Regions from separate parts of the Homo sapiens genome. Here regions 2, 3, 4 and 5 are each linked to region 1. The links are contacts of gene promoters, found by promoter capture Hi-C in human tissues and cell types (Jung and others, 2019). All regions are on one chromosome and are shown on one strand. Each heading gives the region's core, a stretch centred on a gene start or on the middle of the fragment in contact. The rest is flanking DNA. Distances are from core to core; before and after follow the strand shown. Region 1 holds the start of ZNF462 (zinc finger protein 462). Region 2 has its middle 68 kb from the start of LINC01505. Region 3 overlaps LINC01505 (long intergenic non-protein coding RNA 1505). Region 4 has its middle 110 kb from the start of LINC01505. Region 5 overlaps LINC01505 (long intergenic non-protein coding RNA 1505).

What was found. Contacts are between HindIII fragments. The study calls those that stand out against the background at their distance.
Region 2: a fragment that was not itself captured here is called in contact with the fragment with the promoter of ZNF462 in region 1 in 1 of the 25 tissues and cell types used here (H1 embryonic stem cells).
Region 3: a fragment that was not itself captured here is called in contact with the fragment with the promoter of ZNF462 in region 1 in 1 of the 25 tissues and cell types used here (H1 embryonic stem cells).
Region 4: a fragment that was not itself captured here is called in contact with the fragment with the promoter of ZNF462 in region 1 in 1 of the 25 tissues and cell types used here (heart right ventricle).
Region 5: a contact is called between a fragment that was not itself captured here and the fragment with the promoter of ZNF462 in region 1, in 1 of the 25 tissues and cell types used here (heart right ventricle).

Annotation. Positions count from the first base shown.
Region 1 is chr9:106,860,967-106,865,478 of GRCh38, reverse strand. ZNF462 (zinc finger protein 462) reads right to left here and starts at 2,313. Exons shown (of 13, transcript NM_021224.6): 1 at 2,124-2,313. The HindIII fragment of the contact is 13,314 bases long and covers 1-4,512 here.
Region 2 is chr9:106,681,569-106,686,436 of GRCh38, reverse strand. No RefSeq gene overlaps it. Among named protein-coding and RNA genes, the nearest start is that of LINC01505, 68 kb to the right of the region's middle. The HindIII fragment of the contact is 6,203 bases long and covers 129-4,868 here.
Region 3 is chr9:106,641,950-106,647,138 of GRCh38, reverse strand. The region is part of intron 3 of LINC01505 (long intergenic non-protein coding RNA 1505); the gene reads right to left. Among named protein-coding and RNA genes, the nearest start is that of LINC01505, 28 kb to the right of the region's middle. The HindIII fragment of the contact is 3,951 bases long and covers 1,244-5,189 here.
Region 4 is chr9:106,727,135-106,732,209 of GRCh38, reverse strand. No RefSeq gene overlaps it. Among named protein-coding and RNA genes, the nearest start is that of LINC01505, 110 kb to the right of the region's middle. The HindIII fragment of the contact is 3,529 bases long and covers 1,234-4,762 here.
Region 5 is chr9:106,664,484-106,669,249 of GRCh38, reverse strand. It overlaps LINC01505 (long intergenic non-protein coding RNA 1505), which reads right to left. Exons shown (of 7, transcript NR_104145.1): 4 at 4,373-4,497; 5 at 1,528-2,693. Among named protein-coding and RNA genes, the nearest start is that of LINC01505, 51 kb to the right of the region's middle. The HindIII fragment of the contact is 6,710 bases long and covers 1-4,766 here.

The sequences.
Region 1 (4,512 bases), core at 1,064-3,563:
TTTATATTTGCAGAAATCAACTCAAATCAGACAATAAAGTCTTGCAATGCATCAAAACATGATGATAACCAAACCCTAGAACTCAAAAAAATCTCAGCTTAGGGCCATCACCATCTTCACAAGGAGGAAATCACATTTCCTGGTGACTTTCAGGAGACCTGGAGCAGCTTAAAGTTGTGTGAAGACCTCAGTGGAACTGTTTTAAGGTTTTTGCCTTGCCTTTCCTGAAGGAGGTCAAAACCCTTCAGGTCCACTCAAAAGGAGAAAAAAAATTCCAAAAGTTTACTTTAAAATGGAAACAAACGCCTCAATAACTTGTGAAAGCACTCTTTGGTGGAGAAAAATCTGAGGAACCCTTAAAAGCCCTCATTTCCTTGCATAATGAATAGACAGTGAGGAACCACCACAAGGTTTCCCTCTGGAAAGAGAGAAGGAGTAGGCAAGCAAGCCTCCTCCTCCTCCAGCCATCACCAACAGAGCTTCAAAATGGAGACATCCATAATTTTATAAACACTTCTCATCTCAGCTTTGTCTCCTGGAAACCCGCTCTCCTCCATTTTCTGGTGGAGTTACAACATGACACGGCTTACCTGACTCAGTTCCCAGCTCTTAACCAAACTAGTCACTTCCTCCAAAAACCTGCAAGCAACCTCCAGAAACAAAACCAAAGCAAACCAAACAGCCAACACAGACACTCAGACACAGCCCCCGGGAGCCCTGGGAGAAAGCCCCAACTGGTTGGTCTTTCCCCATCCCAGACGCGTGCTTAAAAATGAAACTTTTTTTTTTCTTGGTTGGGGAGGAATATAAAAGGAACTCCAGGCAGCCTCCCTCCCTCCCTCTCTGTAGGTTAGAAGCCACAATGAAAAGAAAACGAGGGTTCCTTCAGGAATGGTGAACAGCCTGGAGAATGAACGTGAGAAGGAGCTTTGTGTTTTGGAGTCTGGACTGGAACCAAAGCAGACAGCTTGCAAATGGAGGACAGGGAGATAAAGAAAGGGAAAGAGGGGCTGCTCCAATGGGGGGCGGCTGCGGCTTCCCCTCGTGCCTGGAAGGAGGGCAGACCCCTGGGAACTGCACCAGGAGTGAGACGCCCCCCCAGGCCCCTGCCTTCCTTTCTCCCTTCCTCAGAGGAGAGCCAAGCGTGTGTAATGGCTTCTCCTCTCCAGAAACCGTTGTCCTCCTCCACCAGACGCTTCTGAACCTCCAGCCTGGAGACAGCTCCTCAGCCGCTCCTGAACCTGCGCCCCCCACCCGGCCGGTGCCCCCCGCTCCTCGCCTCTCTGTTCACCAGCAGCACCGGCACCAGCAGCTGCAGCAGCCACCCCCCGACACATCCCGACCCCGCATCCCAACTTCGGGGAGAGGGAGAGAGAGAGAGAGAGAGAGAGAGAGAGAGAGAGAGAGAGAGAGAGAGAGAGAGAGAGAGAGAGAGAGAGCCAAATACCTGAGGAAGAGGGGGGCTGCCAATCCGCACGGCTTTGCCATCGGGCGGGGGACAGGCAGACAGAAGGGGGAAAGGAAGGAGAGGGACAGAGAAAGAAAGAGGTCAACCCGCTCAGGTCGGGGCCGCTCGCACGGAGCTCTCCCTCCTCTGACCCTCGCTCGCTCCCTCTGGCTCTCGGCTCAGGTCTCCGGCCTCCCGCCCTCCGCCCCCCTCTGTCCCTACTCCTGTCCCCACACTCGGAGCATCCGTCCTAAGCCTCCAGCTCTCTTCTCACTCATCTTTCATTTTCTCTTCTCTTCATAGAACTACACGAAATTAATTAAGCCACCGCGCTCACTCCCCCCAGCAGGAGCAGCAGCCAGCAGGAAAAGCACAGCCACCTCCACTGCCACCACTACCACCTTCTCCTCCTCTTCCTCCTCCTCCTCTTCCTCCCTCGCTTCTCCTCCTCCTCTTCCTCCTCCCCCTCCTGCTCTCCCTCCTCCCCCTCCTCCTCTTCTCTCTCGCTTCTTCTCCTCTTCCAACAGCCAGTCCATGCAGGGGACTTCCTCTCCTCCCCGCTCCTCCAACCCTCCTTGGCCGAATGAATGAGCGCGTTTGTGCCTCCACCACCCCGCGCTCTCTTCCCCGGAGCACTCGGACCACCCCGAGGTGGTTGTTAATTGCAGTAACTTACAGAAGAAGCGTCCCGGCGCCGGGAGGTGCTTCGGGTTCTCCAGCCCCACCGCCTCCTTATCCTCTTTCTCTTTCTCCTCTTCCTGCTCGGGTTATTGTTGTGGAAGTTGTTTGGGAGTCTCATGTGCTTCTGCCGGGTCTCAGCAATGGAGGATCGCCATCTTCCCTGCCTTCCTCGGCTCCTCAGACTCGCTGCAGCTGCAGATGACCTGAGATATCCGTCTCTCTCCCTCTCTCTCTCTCTCCCTCCCTCCCTCTCCCTCTCACTCTCTCTCTCCCCTCTCTCTCCTCTTCTCTCTCCTCTCCTCCCTCTCCCTCGCGCGCTCTCTCTCTCTCCCTCCCTCTGTGTCTCTCTCTGAATAATGAGCAACCAGGGGGAGAGAGAAAGCAAGACAGAAAGAGAGAAGGAAGACAATCTTCTCCTGCCACACAAAACGCCGGAGCACCAGGGGGTGCGCGAAGCCTTTCTAATAACAACAACAACGTGCAGCAGAGAGGAAGGAAAAAAAGAAAGAAAGAAAGAAATGAGGAAAAAGGCTAGGGGAAAAAAGAGGAAGAATTATCCAAGAGCTCGAGAAGAGCAGAAGGAGAAGCTGGAGGAGATGCTGAGGCTGCTGCTGCTGTTCCCCCTCCCCCCTGCTGAACCCCAGAAGGAGGCAAGGTGGTTGCAAAGTTAAGGCTGGGACATTGTCTTTGTCACTCAGAGCCAGGCCAGTGAGATGCAAGAGGAGGAGGTGGCGGCGGCAGAGGAGGAGGAGGTGGTGGTGGAGGAGGGGGAGGAAGAGGAGGAGAAGGAGGCAAAGGAGAAGGAGGCAAAGGAGAAGGAGAAGGGGAAGAGGGAGATGAGATGATGAATAAAGACCTGCGGAGAAGGCGGTGCGAGGAGCGCGGCCGCCGGGCCGAGGCGTGCGCGCTCGCGTCCCGGTGGCGCCCGGCAGCCCTGGCCCGCAGAGGAAGCCCCCGGTGAGGACCCTGCCCGGCAGCTCATAGCGCTCCCAACGTCAGCCCTGCCCGAGGCGCCGAGCCCGAGCCCCAGAGGGTCCCTTACTTGCATCCATCTAGAGGCCAACCTTTGCAAAGAACATACGTGGGGAACTGGAGGTTGCAAGTATAAACCCAGATCAACCACGTGGGGCTTTTTAATCCCTTTCCAGCTTGCGGTGTGAGTATTTCCAGTGAAAAGCTCAAATTGTCCATTACTGGCACGTATTTTGAAGTCTTCTCTCCTGAAATAAAGGCTCATTGTGCGTTTTATTTCTTTCCTGATATGGAAGGTGGGGGGGTGGAGGAGGAAAAGAGCCCATCATTCCGAGCTTCGGAACCACCACTTTCTTTTCCTAACTTGTGAAATGTTTTGACTGCGCACCAAAAGAAAAAAAGAACGCCTGCTTAAATAACTTTACACCCTCCAGCCCCGCGTTGTTTGCACTTTCTGGCTGATCATCTAAAGGCTCGGAAAGTAACAATCAGCGCTCTTAATGATAAGGTGTCATGGTGTTGAAGACACGCGAGCCAAGATGAAGCTTTCACACCTTGAATTTTTATTTAGTGTAATCTCTCCCGTATCATTCTGAACTATCTCTTTTGCAAAGGAGTGGTTCCCCCCCTCCACCACCAGGTCGAAAGTCTCCTACGGTTTTAATTGGACTGGGAGCGGTGGGGGTTGGGGATGGGGGTTCTACAGTATCAAAAAAATCAATGCAGCAAGTCAGGAGCAATTGAAGTTCAAGGGCATGGGCTGATTGTACCATTTCTATTTCTTGGATCTTGGAGTTGGACATCAACAGCCTCAGGAGAGAGAAACGCGCAGCGCGCGGGGCAGAAAGAGACCTTAATTAAAGTTTCTTTTGTCCGCGTCTGAATTGGGGATGTTGCTGGATTCCTTTGCATTGAGGAGCGCGCATCCGGTGAAGGCGCGGTGTTAAGGATCCTGGGCAAGTCTGTCCTCTTTAAATACTCGCCCTTTCTCCTCCCTCCCCCCAAGCAACAGTCCGAGAAGATATATACCTATAAATCCATACAATAAAGGAAGAGGAGGAGACGCGCGCGGAGTTGGTTCCCATCCGATAGCGGGGCTTCATAAACAGATCTAAATCCTCATTTTCCAAGATTTTCCCGACCCTATATTCCTGAGCAGAATCTCTCACCCCGAGGCACGATTTCACCCACTTCCAGTCAACACTTCCTGCCCTTTTCTCCTCCCACTCACATTGAAAAGCTCGGGATCCCTAAAAGGGTGTTGATGGCGGGGGTGATAAATAAATAAATAAATGACACTCTACGCGTGCGGTGGAGAAGAAAGGAGGGGGAGGGAGAGGAAAGGCGAGGAGAGGGAAGAGAAGTAAGGAGACGAGAACAAGGCGCAGAAAGGACAGAGGCGAAAGGGGAAC
Region 2 (4,868 bases), core at 1,981-4,480, 180 kb after region 1:
TAGATTGCACATCACTTTCATGATTTTATATGAGTTTTGTGAAAACCTTCAAGTACCGTTATCCCTGTTTTACGGAAGATAAAACTAAAGCTCAGGAATATTAAGCTACTTATCTGAGGTCACGCAGCAAGAAAGTGGCAAAATATGGACATATTCTTCAGTCTTGACACTCCCACCTCTTCTGCCAACCATATTGTCTTATTCTTCTCTTCCTGAACATGTTAAGGGCAGACACCTATCTGACCCTTTACTGTCTTTCTTCTTACAGTAGTGTTTTATATAGGTGTTCAATGTGTGTTTGTTTGCTTGAAATAAAGAAAACATATAGACACACTTAGAAGTAGGAAAACAGCCAGCACAGATTATGTTTCTCTTTTTATACCAATGAAACAGTTGTGCTATAATTTTTTTATGAGTATTTTCTATGGTGTAGGAATCCACAATCAGAATTCAACCATTTCATTTCTTGGTGCAGCTCTTACAAATTCTCATAACTTCCATGCACATTGTACATACTCAAAAGTGTTTCAGTAAATATGTATCGATTAGCTAGCTCTTCCTAGACTTCCTTATGAAGTATTTGAATGTGTTGTGTGTGTGTGTGTGTGTGTGTGTGCGCGCATGTGTGTGTGAGAGAGAGACAGATAACTAGGTGAATGTTATGGAATTAGGTAACCAAAAGAGATAAGTAAGTGGTCTCTATTTTCCAGGAGTTTATAGTTAATGGGAGTTTCTAATATGTAGACAGGGGGAAAATAGTGCCATTTTAAAGAAAAGAAAGACTGGGAGAGGAATAGATCAAAATTTGTCATTAGAAATTCATTTGATTTCAATTCAGCCCAAATATCATAGTCTCTGTCTTCAAATGATTTTCAGTCTAGGCAGAAGACAGATTTATACATGTCCACACACACACACACACACACACACGCACGCGCGCGCGCGCGCGCACAGGCACACTCTTACTCACACTCACTGTTACACTCAGCCAGAACTATTTTTACTTATTTTTAACCCTAAGGTGATTTAGGGCCATTTCATTACCTTTTGTTTTCTATAAATTTTTAGACACAATTAAATATTTCTCAAAAAGAAAGTTCATTTTTGAAGCCCAAATAGTTTCTCTTCTTTCTAGGCAACCATTCTGTGATGTAATTTATATTTTTTGTTGCTTAGCTACTTGAAAAAAAAAGGGCAACTTGCCCCGTTTTCATGGAAGAAAGACTCCTTGGTGCTTTCATTTGCATGATGCCAGGAGCTGTTACAGTCTGAATCTGAATCAAAATCACTCTGCCCCTAGGAGATGCTCCGTATCCTAATGAGTGCCTTCCTGTTCCCCAGACACACTTTCTTACCTTTTCTCTGTGGGCCAGGAGAGCTTCACTTTTTATATTTTCTAGACCCTCCAAACCAGCCCCAGGTGAACTGGGCCTCTCTCCCTGTTGCATGAACCAGTGAGTAAACCCTTGGATCATGAGTTCACTGTGGCTTGGATTCCAGGACCTCCACCAAGCCCAGGGACTCTGGGAAGAAACCAGAGACTCTGCATCTTAGGACTTCAGTCAACACCTCAGAAAGAGCCCAAGAACAGCCTCTGCAGGCACTGTTAGTTATAAGGAGTGAGATGTCGATTGGTTGGTTCACATGTAACTCCTACATTTGGACTAAGATGAAGACAGTTTGAGATTCATCAAAAGGGCTTGTTCTTTCTTTATGAGATAGGATGGCTGTACCCTACCTATATCTCCCTGTGGGGTCAGCTTCATGGGGTCTCCTCTTAATGAGATCTTAAGGGGACTTTTGTAATGATTTTATCCCACTGAAGAGTTGAAGGAAAAATACTAAAAACTGTGGATCTAAGACAATATCAGGCCTTGGAGATTTGCCTCTACTACTGTTATTTTGATATTTAAATACAAATCTGAAAAACCATTTTCTTCTATTCAAAAATACAGATAATCAGGAGAATCACTGAACGACCTGAGGTTGTGTCATTCAGGCCAGGTGTCTGCTTTCAATACATATTGTTTGACCTCAGATTTTTGTTTTAAAATTTCCATTATGAACACTAGGTGATATTCAAGATAAGGCTCATTGAACCAGGTTAAGATAATAGCATTGGCATGACACTTACTAGAGAAGCCTCAAAAATTTAGTAATTTATATACTTAGGCAGAATAAAAATAATTTGCTACTTTAATGCACTTTGTAATGGCAATGGTTTGGTGTGGTGAGTTTTCTTATAACAAGGAATAGCTATGTCATTTTGATAAAATATGTGGTAGATTTAGTTTTCATGCCAAAAGCAAAAACACAGAACAACCCCCACTTCCCCACAAAACCCTAATGATGATGCTCATAGAATATAAATGATTCTTCTCCAAATGTCTGCTTTTTCATTTGTTGGTGAGGGGTACAAATGACCCCTCACTTCTCTCCTTCTTGTCCTCACCCCAATTTCACCATTATTGTAGAGGCAGAGGCAGAGAGGTGAGATGGAAAGAGTTCAGACAGACTTGCCCTGCCCCTTGTTAGTGGTGCGACATTAGGCAATTTATCTGAGAATAATAATACTTCCATCACAGGTGAGAATTGTGAGAAGGTAAAATTCCTTACCTCATGCCCAGTGTAGGGTGGACCCCATTATCCAATTTCAGGTTGCCTCCACTTTCCCAGGAGGCCACCTGCATCATCTCTTCTGCTTTTTTCCCACAAAGATCCTTCATGTTGTCTCAGGATGTACCTCTGAATGGCCTCTCTTGGCTGACAGTGACCATAATGACCATAGAGGTGGGAGGGAGGGAAATCCTCCCTTCCAGAAATTCTTAAGTGGGCTGTCTGGATGAACTTTTACTTGGAGAGTATCTCTGCTTCTTGCTATTCTAGACATAAAGCAGAATGTGGAAGGTGAAGAGTCCAGAAATCAGTAGACAGCCCCATGAAAGGAGGTGTGAGATACTGAGTGAGAACATAGGCTCTGATCTGTTGCTGTGGTTTGCGATCCAGCTCTGTTACTTAATATCTGTGATGTCTTGGGCAAGACCTTTCTCTTAGGGGTCTCAGTTTGCCTGTCTGTAAAACAGGAACAGTAATATGCTTATCTCATAAGATAATTGTGAGGATTAAATTAATTGATTTGTGTGAAGCACTTATACCATTGCCTGGGACAGAGTGATGCCCTGATGTCACTCTTATTACTGTTACCTGAAAGCGGTCCCCATCCAGACCCCAAGAGAGGGTTCTTGCATCTCGCGCAAGAAAGAATTCAGGGTGAGTCCACAGTACAAAGCGAAAGCAAGTTTATTAAGATGGTAAAGGAATAGAGAATGGCTACTCCATAGGCAGAGTAGCAGCCTGGGCTGCTGGTTGCCTATTTTTATGGTTATTTCTTGATTACTTGCTAAACAAGAAGTTGATTATTTATGAGTTTCCCAGGAAGGGCGTGTACAGTTCCCAGAGCTGAGGGTTCCTCCCCTTTTTAGACCATCTAGGGTAACTTCCAGACTTTGCCATGGCATTTGTAAACTGTCATGGTGCTGGTGGAAATGTAGCAGTGGGGATGAACATAAGTCACTCTCATCACCATCTTGGTTTTACTGGGTTTTGGCTGGCTTCTTTATTGCAACCTGTTTTATCAGCAAGGTCTTTATGACCTATATCTTGTGCCGACCTCCTATCTCATCCTGTGATTTAGAATGCCTAATTGTCTGGGAATGCAGCCCAGTAGGTCTCAGCCTTATTATACCCAGCCCCTATTCAAGATGGAGGCACTCTGATTCAAACACCTCTGACATTACTCATGCTGTTGTTATTGTTGTTATCTTTGTTGCTACAATGGTTTAGCAACCGAAGTTGACCAGTCCTTCAACAAGTATCTGTTAAGTGCCTACTACTTGACTTGAGTTCTGCTAGAGTTTATGGATGCAGGATGAATAAAACATAGTGTTAGGATGGAGGTCAACTTTGTTGTCTGGCATTGGACATGCCTGGTGAATGTCTAGTAAGTGTTTAATAGATACATTAAAACAAAAACAGGTGTACAATAAAGAGTCAGGCACTTAGAAAGAGTCAGCACACTTAGAAAGTGTGAAGCCTTAGAAAGCCCAAGCAAGGCCATTCAAAAGCTTTTGTTCTGGTTTCCTTGACTTTGGTCTCTTAGCCAATGAAATTCTTCCATACATGACTCTAAGATCCATCTTTGTGAGATGCTGCTCAGATTAGCTCAGGCCTCCCCATATTTCCAGTGGCTGTTACCTAATGAAAACAGCTCAAATAGCTTTATGTGACACTCAAGGCCCCTTGCCATCTGGCTTCAATTTGTCTGGCTTGCCTTGCTTCCCTCAGGGCTCTAACCAAACAATTCTAGTTGCAGTTCTTGCCTTTCCCTGCCCTTGACCTTTGCCTGTACATTTTTATCTCTTAGAAAGGCTTCCTTTTCCTGTGTGCACACATTTTTAAAGATATAGCCCAATATCATCCCTTTGTGAAGTCTCCCTTGATTTATTATTGTCTAAGTGCTTATTGTTACTTGTTCCATGAAGATGGTACTCAATACCTGCCATCTTGTATTATGTTATGTATGTGAACCTTCATCCCTCCCCTGAGATTGTAAGATGCCTTTGGCAAGAGGCATCAGAAAGGTAGATTGTCAGAGGTTGGCTGGAAAGAGTAACCACCAGAGAAAAGAATAAATGACTGTCCCACGTGAAGGGAGAAGTGAGACCGCAATGTTAATTGGAAGGAAAGAAGAAAGCAATGAGAAGAGGCTCACTAAGCTTATTAAATGTTCTTCTTCTCATAACCTTCACAGTTCATTCTAAGGAGCCATGAGCCTAAAACAGCCAAGCAGCACCCTTTGTATGGTGGGC
Region 3 (5,189 bases), core at 1,970-4,469, 220 kb after region 1:
AACTGCACACCCAGATGAAAAAATTAAAAAAAAAGGGAGTGGGCTGTATAAGCTACAGTAAAGATCCTATTTTACTTGAATTTAAATTAATTTGTCAATATCCACTAAGAAAGTAGAAAATCCATATGCTCTAGGACCCAGAAATCCTGCCTTTAGCGATTCCCTACTGAAGTTCCTGCCCATGTACACCAAGGAGATCTGAACAAGGACATTCATTGCAGCATTGTCTGTAATAGAGGAGAATTAGAAACAACTGAAATGTCCATTAATAGGAGAATGGATATATAAATTGTGCTATATGCTTGTGATGGAATTCAAATGTAGCTGTTAAAATGAACTAAGTCTACATGTGTCAACATGGGTGTATCTCATAAACATTATGTTGAATGGATGAAAAGTTGCAGAATCATACAGACTATATGACAGCATTTAAAAATGTATTGGGGACACATATAGATGTAATAAAATTGTAAACATATGAAATAGGATACACAGTAAATTCCTGAGTGTGGTAGCTTTGGGAGAGAGGAAGAGGAAGAGGAATAAATGCTCTTGTGAGGGGTAACAAAAGGGGCTTAAACTTTATCTGCCGTGCTATAGTTCTTTTATTTAAACAAACAGAAGCAAGACAAGAAACAACAACCTGACCTGGTCAGTTGCTTCAACTGATCAAATGGGGCATTGCTTGGTATTATGTGGACATGTCTAATAAAGAGGGTTCAGGCCACAAATGAGTTCCTATTGCAGAGTCCAGTCAAGGTCTCAAATCCCAGTGATTGATTGGAGCCTCTGACCTAAGTTTCCTTGCCAAGGCATTTGCATTGAACATGAACACAAATGTGTAAGTTAGACATATTGCTGTGTCTTTTTGCCAGAATTTTAGCAGAAAGGTTATATTCGGTCTCACTAGTTGAAAACACAAATAATTCCAGGATTGCACTAATAACATTCAAGGGGGGTAAATCTGCTTTCTCACAGAAATTTAGGCAATGCTAGAGTAATTTAATTCATAAATGGCTCCTGGTTGTGATTGCATTAGGGCTGTGAAATGTACCACAATGAAATGGCAATGACTGTCTGCTAAAACAAGGAAGGTGGGGATATGGCCTTTCTTGGTATTTATATTACATCATGATGAAAAATATGTGATCTTTAAGTTGTTACACAACAAATAGAGCCTTGGTCAAAATTTCACAGGGAAAGTAGTTGAAATTTTGTACTTTCGATGTTTTATATTAATTTTGATTATTATAATTTTTTGATTAATTTTCCTTGGGGATATCAGGACAGTATGATGGTACCTTGGGATGGTGTTATATGATGTTGATGGGGTGAGGAGAACACAGATTAGTCGGTTCTGTCCAATAAGCCCCTCTCTCCATAAGGAGAGTATTCTCAGGTAACTGTTATAATAGAAATGTCTCTATTTTCAATCTTTAAGCATTTTGAGATTTTTTTTACTTGATGCTGGTGAATTTAATTTCCTACTTTAAGTTTGTGTAATCATGCCTAGTACTCCTCTTCTCCCTCCCCCATTTTTTAAAAGACTTTGAGTCACAACTTTGCCAGCCTAATCAGACTAGTATGGGCATCACATTGTCTAAAAGGTGCTGCCCTGCTGGGATTTACATTATGGCTCTTTTTGCCACCCTGTCTGCTATTGGTTAAAGAGCTAGCAAGCCTGGGTGGGGCGCGGTGGCTCACGCCTGTAATCCCAGCACTTTGGGAGGCCGAGGCGGGCAGATCACGAGGTCAGGAGATCGAGAGCATCCTGGTTAACATGGTGAAACCCTGTCTCTACTAAAAAATACAACAAAAATTAGCCTGGCTTGGTGGTGTGCGCTGTAGTCCCAGCTACTGGGGAGGCTGAGGCAGGAGAATGGCGTGAACCCGGGAGGCGGAGCTTGTAGCGAGCCGAGATCGTGCCACTGCACTCCAGCCTGGGTGACAGAGCCAGACCCCATCTCAAAAAAAAAAAAAAAAAAAAAGCTAGCAAGACTGTAGGAGAACTGGCCAGAAAAATAGAAGAGAAATAAAACACAGTAAAACTAGTTTGACTGTCCAACTTAAAAAGATAGACTCCGAACTAAATATTTTGTGTGTAATGGGACAATATTTTGATGATACTAGGGCAATGTGCAGCATTTTTTTTTTTCACGGTGAGCTCTTGTTCCAGGTTGGCTTGTGCCTTTCATAACTAGTGTCAGTCCTAGACAATTAGAACAAAGGGAGTAGAAAGAACTCAGGATATGACATAGGGGACATACAGCCGTTAGAAAATAGAAGATGTGGGTGGAGATGAGTCAGAAATATCCAGATAGACATGAAAGAATTTAAAAATATGGTGGGAGGATGTAGAGAGGAGACAGTCACCAGCAACCTTGGGGATAGTAGAGGAAGGTCATATGCTTTCAGGAGAAGTCTCCTCACAAGGCTACTTTCAATATGGTGTAGGGTTATACACAGCAGTGATGACTGGGGAGGAAATAAATAGGTGAAAGACAGGGCTGTCTGTAGCTATGTCAGGTAATCAATCCAGAAGTTTCTGTGAGCCTCGCTGAGGGGACACTGAGGAGCTGAGAGACAGCACTGTGTTTAGGGGCTTTCCAAACAGGGACATATGACCAGAACCATGGATTCCAGTTTTCAACAGCAGCACCTTGCTCTAGATGGGGCCAATAACACCTCAACAGTGATCAGTCCAAGTATCAGAATAGATCGGACGCTTCCCAGTAAAGATAAGAGAGGATCCAAGGACACCTGCTGGAACTTACGCCTTTTCTCTCTGCTTTGAGAGTATGCAAAGAAGCCTTGTCATCAGATCCAGAAATCATCTCAGGATAAAGAACAGGGAGGGTTCAGGACACTATAAGATGAAACACTCACCTAAAGTAAAAGAGCAGCCAGAAATACGGAAAACTTTAAGCCATCTCTAAGAGGAAGGTGAACTTAAAATATATCCAACATTTTATGTGAAAAGAGATTAAAGTGGAAAAAAGATTGAGATATTGTAAATTTCCAGTTCTAGGTTTCCCAGCTACCTAGAGAGCTGTGGGAGGGGAATTCGTGAGAAAGAACAGATCATGAGACAAAGAACTTATACTTTCTTTGAATATTTTAGTGTAATATGCAAACTTTTGACTCTACCAGATGTTTATGGTTAGGGTTGTACCTAATTTTTTTTTAATTGGTGGATAATATATACGTGTGTGTGTGTGTGTGTGTGTGTATACATTCACAGCTCTCTTCATGTGCATTTCATGACTTCCAAAGAATACAGAAACTCTTATCAAGACACAAAACATTTCCACTACTCAAGAAAGTTTCTTCATGCCCCTCCTCAGTGAACTACTGTACCCTCTTATCTGAGGCACTGATCTATTTCTCATCATTACAAAAAATGTTATCATTTCATTTAAGTGAATCACACACTTTGTACTCTTGTGTGTCTGACTTCTTTTGCTTAGCAAAATGTTTTTGAGCTCTATCCATGTTATTGTGTATATAAATAGTTCATTCCTTTTTTATTGCTGAGTAATATTCCATTAATTGATGTTTGAGTTGTTTCCATTTTAGACTATTACGAATAAAGTTACTATGAACATTCTTAAACAAACATTTGTATGGACATTTGTTTTTATTTCTCTTGGGTAAATACCTAGAAGCGAAATTGCTAGATATAGAGTCAGTATACATTTGGCTTTATAGAAAACTGACAAACAATTTTCCAAACTGGTTTTACCACTTTATACTCCCACAGGTAATATATGAGGGTTATTGCTGTTCTATATCCTCACTAGTATTTGGTGTTGTCAACATTCTTATTTACAGCCATTCTAATGTGTGTGCAGTGGTATCTTATTGTGGTTTTGACTTGTAATTTCCTCACGACTAATGATGTAGAGCAATTTTTTATGTTCTTTTTGGCCATTCATATATCATCCTTTGTGAAATGTCTGTTTAATTCTTTTGCCTATTTCTTTAAACTGTGTGATTTGACATCCATAGGAGTGTGCTGCTCAGATCTCCTTTGAGAAAGCTTATTTTGGGAAATATAATTGATTGACAGTTCCCCATTGCTGCTTTCAACCAGTGCCTAAGCACTGGGGAATGTGAGTCTAACCTATGCCCACCTAACAAGGATTCCTCTAAAGGGCAACTTTTGCTTAAAGATTATTCATCAGCCTGATTAAAATATTCTGAGAGTGTGTTGCAATTTGAGGCTCTTCCTAGACAATTTTTCTTTCTTTCTTATCTTGGACAGGTATCAGAATTGCCCTGGGGTTAGATGTCTTTCCTTGTTTGTGTGCCACTACTCCCCCACCAGTTTATCTTCACAGATACTTCAACCAGTACATCTCTAGCACTTCTAATCCTATTTTGGCATCTGGAGACACACTTCGTTTTTGTTGTTGTTATTGACTTGTATGAATTCTTTTTATACTCTGGATACAAGTCCTTTGTCGGAATCTGTATTGTAAATATTTCCTTCCGGTTTGCATGTTAATTTTCTTAACAATGACTTTTTATGAGCAGCAAGTTTAATTTTGATAAATACAACTTATTGATGTTTTCTTTGATGGTTCGTGCTTTTGGCATTTTAAGTTATTAAATTTATTGGCATGATGTTCATAATATTTCATTATTTGTAGAATCTACGGTGATGTCTTTCCTTTGTTCTGATATTGGTAATCTCTTTTATTGAAGATCATATTTTCTTGATATTGGATATTAGTATTTTTTTCTGGATTAATCTACCTAGGGGTTTATCAACTTTATTTATTTCAAATAATATATTTTTGCAGTTAGTGATTTTCTCTATTATTTAACCATCTCCTATTTCGTGGATTTCCATTTTTCTTTATTATTTCATTCTTTCACTCGCTTTAATTTTCTTTCTTTGAGTTTCTTAGAATGAAATTCTAGAGCTTTAATTATCAACTTTTTATATTTTATAATGTATTCATTTAAAGCTATACATTTCCCTCTAAGCAATGCTTTATCTCTATTCTGCAAATGTTGGTAAGTTGTGTTTTTCATATCATTCAGTTCAATATACTTTCTCATTTCCCTTGTGACATCTTTGACTCATGGCTTGTTTAGGAAGTGTGTTGAATTCCCAAATATTTGAATATTTTTCAGATGTCTATCATACTTAATTTATTGCCTTTTATTTATACCCATTTAAA
Region 4 (5,075 bases), core at 1,749-4,248, 130 kb after region 1:
ATTGAGCCCCCACCAGGTGGCTGGCACAAGGGCCTTGAGCACTGGGCTTACCATATAATTAGAGTTACCAGATCAACACACAAGCCAGCCCCCAGTGCAGAGGGAGACAGAGGGCTGTAACTTAATGAGAGGCAGATGTCAACGGGGAGCAGATGTTTGCAGCTCTTCAGTTATATCAAATTAATCATCTCCTGACTTCAAGGTGCTTCTTGGAGTCCAGGAAATTTCCCTGTAATAAATTGCTCCTGGGATTGATTTTTAAAGTGAGAATGTATTTGCCACTGTCTTGAATGCTTTAGAACAATTCTTTCTAGAAGCAGAAGAAGTTTTTTAATATGGAAAAATTTAGGTGAAGGTTAAACAAGACCAAATCTAAGTTCCCAGCCTGGTTTATAAAAAACAGAGGGGCTGACTTTTTACTAATAAAATTAGCTGCTGGTTCTGCTCCACCAGTCTGCCCACTTTTGCATTTATTTAGCAAATAATTTTCACAGACACAATATGTACTGAAGCTATAACACTGAAGGAAAATGTAGAAGCCAACCTCATGGAGGCTGCAGCATTGTAGTAAATAATCACACAGATACATCTATAATTACAAATGGGGAAAGTGCTATGCCAGAGAGTTATGTGGTTCTTGAAGATAGTTAATGCAGGGATTCGATTCAAGTCAGAGAGAGCAGAATAAATCTTTTCTAAGCAAGAGATATTAGCAGAGTTCTTCCTTCTCTCTTTTTGATCTCTTTCCTTCTCCCTTCCTTCTTCCTTCTTTGTCTTTCCCTCTCTTCCCATCTCACCTTTCCTCCTTTCTCTTTCCTCCTTCCCAGTCTACTTGCTTCCCTCCTGCCTTTTCTTTCCTTTTCTCACTTCCCACTTTCTTCCTTCCATCATCATTCCTTTCTTGTCTTCTGTTTCCCTCCTCACCCTGTCCTCCTCCCTACCCTGTACTTTTCTTCTATTCTTTCCCAAATAGTAGTTGAAAGCTTGTTAGGGACTCAAGCCCTGCACCATACCCGGAGGGTTGATGTACATACAGAGATGAACAGGAAACCATTTCTCTTCAAAGTGCCTAGAGATGATGCATAATTAGTTGAAATTCAGGACAGTAGGTATTATACTGGAAGCAGATACAGGTTTTTCTGGGAAGGGCACCAGACTTAGGCCAGGGTATTGGGAAGGAGCAGGGGCCAGGTGAGAAAATAGTTTTAGAAGTGGTGGACATTTGAGATCATTCTTAGCAGACAGCTAGGAGTTAGTTGGAAAATAGGGTGGAGGACCTTGTGGGCAGGGGAACACTCCCATGTTTAAAAACAAGAAAAGTGTGATGGGACAGTTGCATCTTGGGGAAGACAAGATATCCAGTATAACTGGGGTAAATGATGTGAGCTGGGAAGATCCAGAAGATGAGATGGTTGGAGATATGGTAGGAGCCAGATGGAGAAGAACAGTGCAATATATTGTCCTGTGGGCAGTCATTGAAAGCTTCAAGAAGAGAGCCACATAATCCAATCTACTATTTAGAAAGATCTTTCTCAACAGTAGTGTGGTCCCACCCACTCCCAGCAGATTAAAAAATCATGTATCTTTATATTTGGCTTTTCCAAAACATTATTTCAGGCTGTGAGGTCTGGCGAGGGCTGATGGCCTCAGATGTGGGAACAAAGTGAAATCTCAAGGTATTTGACTCTGACAGTATTGCAGAAGTCCCTTCACCTCTTGTCTAAGGTCTCTGTTTATAAGACTCCCCCCGCTGCCCCGCAAAAAAAAAAAAAAAAAAAAAAAAAAAAGAATGAGTAAACACCATTGGAGCATCTTAATTGTTGGGAATTTTCTATTACTGTAGTGATGATAGGTAAGCCAATTCCTTTGTTTTCAAGGTATAAAAGTAAAAGAATCCTGAAAATGATGGCAGTTCAGAAAATATTCATTATTCTTAACTATGACTTCTCAACCTCGGCACTGTTGGCATTTTGGCTGAATAATTCTTTTTTGTGAAGGGCTGTCTTACAATAAATAGTTTAATAGCTTCCCTGGCCTCTACTCACTGGATGCCAGTAGAAAATCTCTTCCAACTGAGGACTATCAAAAATGTCCCCAGACATTGTCAAATGTCCCCTGGGGGACAAAACTGCCCCCTGTGGAGAACCAGTTTTAAACCGTATGATTGGAAGTATTGTTGACATGAAGAAACTCAGATAAGATTTAGCCAAGGTGTACTCAGCAAATTCTTCATGTGTTTAGAGTCACATAGGGAGGGACTGATGGCATCTGATGCCAAGTAAATTCCAGTGTTGACTCCAGAAACATCCCCTCTCTGCACTCTCAGGCTCCTGCTAATTATGAGACCACCCCTTCCTTTCCCTCATCTCCAAATGACTCTAATGTGTTATCATGGCACAGATCCTACTTTCTCTCCAATTACAAGATCAGATGGACATTTTTCAGTTTGGCTTTCAAAGCTGGTTGCTCCTCAGAGACAGCTTTGCTAAAAGCATTTAATGATCCTTGAGGTAGCCAAGCTTTAGAGGTGCCTATCTGTGGCACTGGGCAGGATGGGGAAGCTATCCGGGGTTCTGTTAACCTTCCAGGGTTACTGCATCTTCCATTTCTCTGTCCTCCCAGAGTGAGGCCTGCTGGTTTTATTTCGGTTTTGCATTTCAGATTCCTGTTTTATAGGATGCCAGCAGCAATGTTTCAGACATTTCTAGGCATTGCATGAGGCTGCTTTTCCCCAGTTAGGTCTTGGGCACTGTAGCACAGCTTCACATATTAAAATTAGGATATCTTGGAGTCACCATTAGGCTGGTGACTAGACTTCACACCCCTTGAGAACAAGGACTCAGTCCTATTTCTTTGATTTCCCAGTGCTTATACTTAGCCGCCCTGCTGGTTGCTGAAAATGCGTATCTTCCAGGACACACAGGAGTCTTGGCCTTGCCACATTTGTCAGCAATGTGGGTTGTCTCGTCATCTGGAACCTACATTATGGTTGTGAACCCACGTTTTACCTGGAACCTTCAGCAGGGAAAGTGTACGCTATTTTTAACAGTGTCCCTTTTTTTCCTAACATGGTTCTTTAACAAGGTCGTATCATTATCAGTTATTTAATATTTCTAAAATTAGAAATCATCTCACTGCTGTGGTAGCTCAAGCTTCAGGCCAGACTCTTTGAGCCTTCTCACACTGGGGCTATTGATACAGCCTCGTGGTGAGTCTTCCCGCTCCTTCTTTTTCTAGTTTATGGTTGGATTCAAAATTCAGCCAGGCTAAACTTTTTGCTCTCTTTTGGTCAGGATTTATACTTATTTAAGGCACCGCAATAGCCACTTTTAAGCTAAAAAACTGGGATATAGCAGCCTGGTTGGAAGTCAACATTCTTACTCAGTGGTCTTATACTTAACTAGCTCAAATAGCTCTCTGACTAGCCTAGGGAAAAGGCCATGCAGTGAAAGGGAGTGGAGTAATGATTCTCTCCAAAGTGGCCCTCCCTGCTGCTCCCTCATAAATTCAACATGTATTTGGGGATAATTAAGAGGGGGCAAAGTGGAAAGCAAGTAGAAGGAAGACAAGGGAAGGGAAGATGCATGCAATCCTTCACAAAGACCTTTCATCACCTGCAGTGTGCCAGTCCCTGTGCTAAGGCCTAAAGACAGTATTATATATGGCATGGCCCTGCCCTCACCAAAGTCATAGTTCACATGAAAAGGACAGAATGAGAGCAAAAGCATCATTAAGACTATATGAAAGCACTTCCTGGAACAGAAAGAACTTTGACTATCTCAACTAATCTCTACATTGTATAGGTACTATCAGTATGCTTATTTTACAGAGGCGAAAACTGTTGCTTGGACAGATTAAGTAATGTGTCCAAGGTTACTTTTCTGATAAAGGATAGAGCCAGCTCTGGAGCCCAGATCTTCTGACTGCAAGTCCAGTGATCTCAGCAGTCAAAAGAAGAAATCTCACCTTCCCGCCTGTGACCAGCCTCCCTCCTCCACCAACAAGCCCTCTGTGATATCTCAGTATTGATGTCTTGGCAGTGTCTTTGGTCCTTGTGCCATGTCTAAAGACAATATTTACTTCTCCTCCCGTAGGGCTCCTTGCTGGCAAAAGGATTGCTCTTCAGACGTGCTGGAAAAAGATCCACAGCACACCTTCAAGGACAGCCTTAAAGCAGGAGTCTCAGGGTGGTTATTGATTACCCTGTTTCCATTTCCCATTGTGGAGCACCATTCTCAAACACCTGCAAGGGCTCTGTGGCCATAAATCAGCTCCTTGTAATAGTAATTAATATGGTGACCCACACAGGGTGAATTCTCCTTTTCCAAAGAACCTAAATAAGTGGGTCATAGAGATGAACATAACTGAAAAATGAGGGGGAACCTCCTTAATGCAAATACATTGTTTTTTTTTCTCCTGAGGAGAAATGAGGAAGGTTTACTAGCCTAAAAATGACTATCACACTAGAAAATAAGTACAAAAAGAAGTGTATAACATTAACATTTTCAATTTGCATGAACTACTTAACCTAAGTCACAGGGAGAAAACTGCGTGAAAATTTTAGCATTATGTGTAAAACATAGTAGGCATTCAGTAAATATTTGTTTTATAGTGAATGAACACATGGCCAAGTAATCCACTCAAGGTGGAAAAACTTTACTGGCTCAACTGGGCATTTTGACTATATTATGAGAAAAACAACTACTATGATGGTTAATACTGGGTGTCAGCTTGATCAGATTGAAGGATACAAAGTATTGACCCTGGGTGTGTCTGTGAGGGTTTTACCAAGGGAGGTTAACATTTGAATTAGTGGGCTGGGTAAGGCAGACCCATCCTTAATCTGGGTGGGCACCATCTAATCAGCTGCCAGCACAGCTAGAATATAAGCAGGCAGAAAAATGTGAAATGAGAGACTAGCATAGCTTCCCAGCCTACATCTTTCTCCCATGCTGGATGCTTCCTGCCCTCGAACATCGGACTCTAAGTTCTTCAGTTTTGGAATTCGTGCTAGCTCTCCTTGCTCCTCAGCCTGCAGCTGGCCTATTGTGGGACCCTGTGATTTTGTGAGTTAA
Region 5 (4,766 bases), core at 2,054-4,553, 200 kb after region 1:
TGGTATCTTCAGGGAAATGCAAACAGTTGTCTGACTACTGAATTAGGCCATCTCAGGGCAGACAGAAACCAAGTGAGAAGGTTGGAAGGGTGGTCTAGAGGCCTGATCTTGTAAGCCTGACATCTTTTCATTGAAATATTACCAGTTTGGTCCATGAAACAAAAAAAACTTTTGATTTCAGAAAACAGAAAGTATTTTCCAGACTCTCTTTTCTCAAACATGCAGGCTTCAAAAAATAATAAAAATAATAAGTTAAAGAAAAGAATCTAAACTCAGAGAGCTTCACTAGGGCAATAAATGCTTCACTTGGGTCCTACTGTGGTAAACTAAACAAACTTCTCCAAGGCTCTGGGCTTCAGCTTCTTTGTGAGACAGTGTTACATAGTGGAAAGGCTATAGAATTTGGATATAAGTCAGCACTCAATGACTTACTGGCCAAACCACCTAGGATTAGTTGCTTTGTTTCCCTGAGTCTCCTTTTGCTTCCTGGGCAGTACTTACACTCCAGCCCTCAATTTAACTTCCTTCAGAAAAGCTACAGTCACCACTGCTCCTGCTGGGCCTAGGAGGTTAGCAGTAAAATGCACATGTATAATGAGTGAAAGAGGGAAAGCGACTCTCTCTAGTCCTTTTGGGTTGGGCACAAGAGCCACCAGCCAGAACTGGCACAAAAGGTTTGGGGAATCAGAGCATGGCTACATCACCACCTTGAGTGAAGTAAATAATTCAGCTAAATGAAAGTACTCCAGTTGGTAGTTTTTGGCTGCAGCAGAGCCATCTAGTCAAAAAGCATAATCCCAGGGTATGAAAAATCACAAACAATCACAGGACATTGGTACAAGGAGGAGGCTTATAGGCTGTTGATTCAAACTCCTTCATTGTACAGAGGAGAAAACCAAGAGTCTGGGAAAGCTCAGTTAACCAAGTATTATTAGGCATCCCATTACTCTTTTATTAGGAGAAATCTGGTATTAGGAAAAACTCAACATCACCTGAGCAACTGGTTTGGTCCTTATCTTTTGGGTATGGAAAACCTGATTATAGATTGTGTTGCCAGATAAAATACAGGACATCCAGATGAAGCTAAATTTTTGATAGACACTAAATAATTTTTTTAGTATAAATGTATCCTTAATACAGCATAAATATAGAATACTAAAATTATTCATTTTAATCAGAAATTCAAATTTAACTTGGCTTTCTGTTATTATTTTTCTATATCTGGCAACCCTAATTATAGAGTGTCTTTTCATCTCCCATCTTTGCTCTGACTGTTAGGAAGCTTAAAGGCAAATGTATCATCATTGTTTTCTAACAGTACTTTATGGTATGCACTTGGCTTTATCCTGTTTGTTTATTTTCCATTCACCCTTTTCTTCATTAAGAAAATCTAGTTGTTACAAGTATCTCAGTAAGCAACATCAAAAACTTTGCTTGGATATTAACTTAAAAAACACCCACATCATGGGGTACTAATTAAGGGCTATACTTTGTACTCAGTTCTGCAGATGTAAATATAAGTAATACCTTCTGTCCAATCTCAAAGAGCCCTACTCAAGGCGGGGTGAGGGGGAAGACAGTTGTTTATATAAGTAATCAAAATTCAGAGAGATGAATGATGAGGTCCAAGGTCACACAGCTAGTTGGTGTCAGAACCAAGCTGTGTTTCCTTACATTGCATTCCATGTAGTGGGCTAGTTCACAAGAACTTTATTACCCATATCTACCTAAATACCTATGGGACAGTTCAGTAGGCACTGATCATTTGGCCTTCTCAGCACCCATCATTTTTCTAGGAGTAGCATCCCTTTATAGAGGCAATTGCTTCTCTTCCTCAAACTTTTTAATATTAGTAGGATCTTCCAATCAGTGTACTTCTCCATGACCTCAGATGTTTGATTCAGGGTGTGGACATGTGACCCAAGCCAGAGTAGTCCTTCCCCAGGAATTCCCAAATTGGAACAAGACAAAAGGCAGTCCCTCTCTGGTGGCAAAGATGGAGATGAAAATATAAGCAACAGCCATATCCCTTGCAGTGTGGAGGAAGCCAGGCTGAGCACATAAAGTTAATACACAAAGAGTGGCAGAGACACTTGCAGCATTCATGTCTTTAATTTCAGCTGTTCTCAAAGCTATGCTGCAAGTCTCCTCGATCCTTCTAGCCGAAAATAATTTCAGTCATGTTTTTGTCTCTTGCAACCAAAAGGGTTATGGCTAATAGAGATTATTTGAGCTGAATTACTATTGGCATCTTCCCAATGGGCTTTCAGAATAACGTGGCTACAGCACAGTTTACACAAAGCTCATTCTGTCTCTATGCAATGCAGAAAAGCTCCTGTTGCTTTAAAGGTACTGCTAAAAGCAGTATTTTTCCAGTCAGCTTCCAAGACACCGTCAAGATGCTTTCACTTATGACAGATTTGTATCTAGCAAGATCAACCAGCACCATGGTGGGTTAATGCTAAATAGCCAATCTGACTTCAAAATCTCCAAACTAGCTGCATGCTGCTGTTGTCATTGCTTCCATTGTAAAGATGGGGAAATTAAAACCTGGAGAGGCAAAGGAGATTGTTCGAGTTCATACATATTTGGCTAAGTTTATTCTAGAATCTGTGTCTCTTGTCACTTAGAATATTGCTTGTTCCACTATAGTCCTTCTTAAAAGCTGCTATCATTTTTTTAGGATCTTCAATCTGGAAAAAAAAAAACCCATTGATTATGACAACATAAAAAGAGCAAAAAATTCTCGGACTTTATGGTTACGTATTAAAATTAGTCATTTGGGGGAGGAAACCTTAAGAAAGTTGTTAGACATAATATACACTTGAGCATCCTCATTTTGTCTATACATCACAATCCCTTGTGAAGCCTTTTAAAAATAAAGATTTTTGAGTCACCTCCATTCCCACAAAAACCTACTGAATGAGAACGTTTGGGAGATGGGTACCAGGTTTTCACATATTTAAAGAACTCCAAAGATGATTTGGATTGAACTGGTCTAAGGACTAGCATTTAGGATCAGTAATGTAGATTTCTTTTTTGAGAGGGGGGGTTCTATATCCTCAGCTTTTAATTAACAACATTTAGAAAAAAATGTCTCTTGGTTGGATTGATATAACCATTTATACAACCAGTGTAGACATACGATTTTAGCAATGTTATACCTCATTCATTCAACCAATATTTACTAATTCCCTACAAGTTGCTGGGTTCTGCACCAGCCACTTGAATTCAAAGACGAGTCAGATGGAAACCCTGCCATCAAGAAGCCTTGAGGGACAGATAATAGATGAGTATATATGATATTTAAATGAGATGGTGATGTCAGTGTACCATGGGTGGGTGTTCCAGGGAAGAAGCTGGTGAGAATCAGGGAGGGTTTCTTGGGAGAGTATTTGAAGTGGGCCCTGAAGGGCAGGTAGGATTTGGACGTGCAGATGAGAGGAAGATCAACTCAGGCAGAGGAAACAGCACGAGCCAAGAATAGGAGCATGGAAAGAATAGTAGTAATAATAATAATGATAACTATAATAATAATAGCAGCAAGCAATTATTGAGCACTTGCCATATATGCCAATTGCTGTTGTAAGTGCTTTGTGTGGGCATCTCATTCAATCCTCACAACAAAGCAATGAAGTAGGTACTTCTATTATTCCTCATTATACAGATGAGAAAACTGAGTTACAGATAGGTTTAGTAATTTGCCCAAGGTCCAGTGCCAAATAAAGTAGGTGGGGGGAAGGATTTCTATTTTGTTCAGTACGTTTTTGGGGAATGAGTGGATATTTTAATCCAATACTATCATTTCAAAGATGTGGAAACTAAGGTTCAGAAAGGTTAGGATCACTCAACTGGTTGGTGGCAGTGTTAGAATAAGAGTCATTTTAATGCATTTTCCATTATGCCAAGCATGCAGTTTGAGACTGAGAGCAAAATCTTAGTTTATCATTTTCTCTTAATCAAAAATTATTTTGAGGAACTGTGATATCTTGAAAAGTAGCTAAACCCAGAGCTGACCTCTAACCAAGATACAGCTTTTGAATCAGGAGGACAAATCACAAGGGAGAGGGAAGTAAAGCATGGTAGAGTGGAACTTGTTTTGGACAAGTCTTATCTATAAAATGTTCTCATCTATAAAGAGATGCAATTAGACAAGAAGTTTCCTAAAGGTCCCTCTATGTTGGCTATTCTGTCTGATCCTAGGCAGGGCTTGAAACTGAGATTATGTCTGTATAAGTCTCTAAGTTTAATGGACTGAAATATAGCCAGAAATAAATAATCATGCTCTAAGAGAACTACATCTGGAGGCCAGAAAGCAGCTGTTAGGTAAATGGAGAGGGTAGCATTCTTTGAGTTTTTGTTCTTCACTTACTGTTTCAGATGATGCTGAGAAAGTCACTTGATGCATTTATGACAACCTCCAGGACCTAATCCATTTCCTCCTCCCAAAAAATGGGACTTGGCAGGAGAGAGCATCATTTTCTGTGATGCTGCAAACTGAAGAAAAGACAGAGTTATCTTTGGTTGAGGCCACCTGGACGCTTCTAGCTTATTGTCTATTGCTTCACCCTAGAGAGCACGCCCCATCTGACCTGAGTTGAAAGCATTCCCTACTTTAAGTAGCAAGATAGGTTCATGTGTATTCCCTATGTTGTGCTGCATTTTTTAAAGTAAAATAAATTTTAAAAATACGAGAGTTAAGTGTTGCTTATAATTCATTTTGACTGATGCCATTGCATCTAATGCAATATTTAGCTGTTTTACCT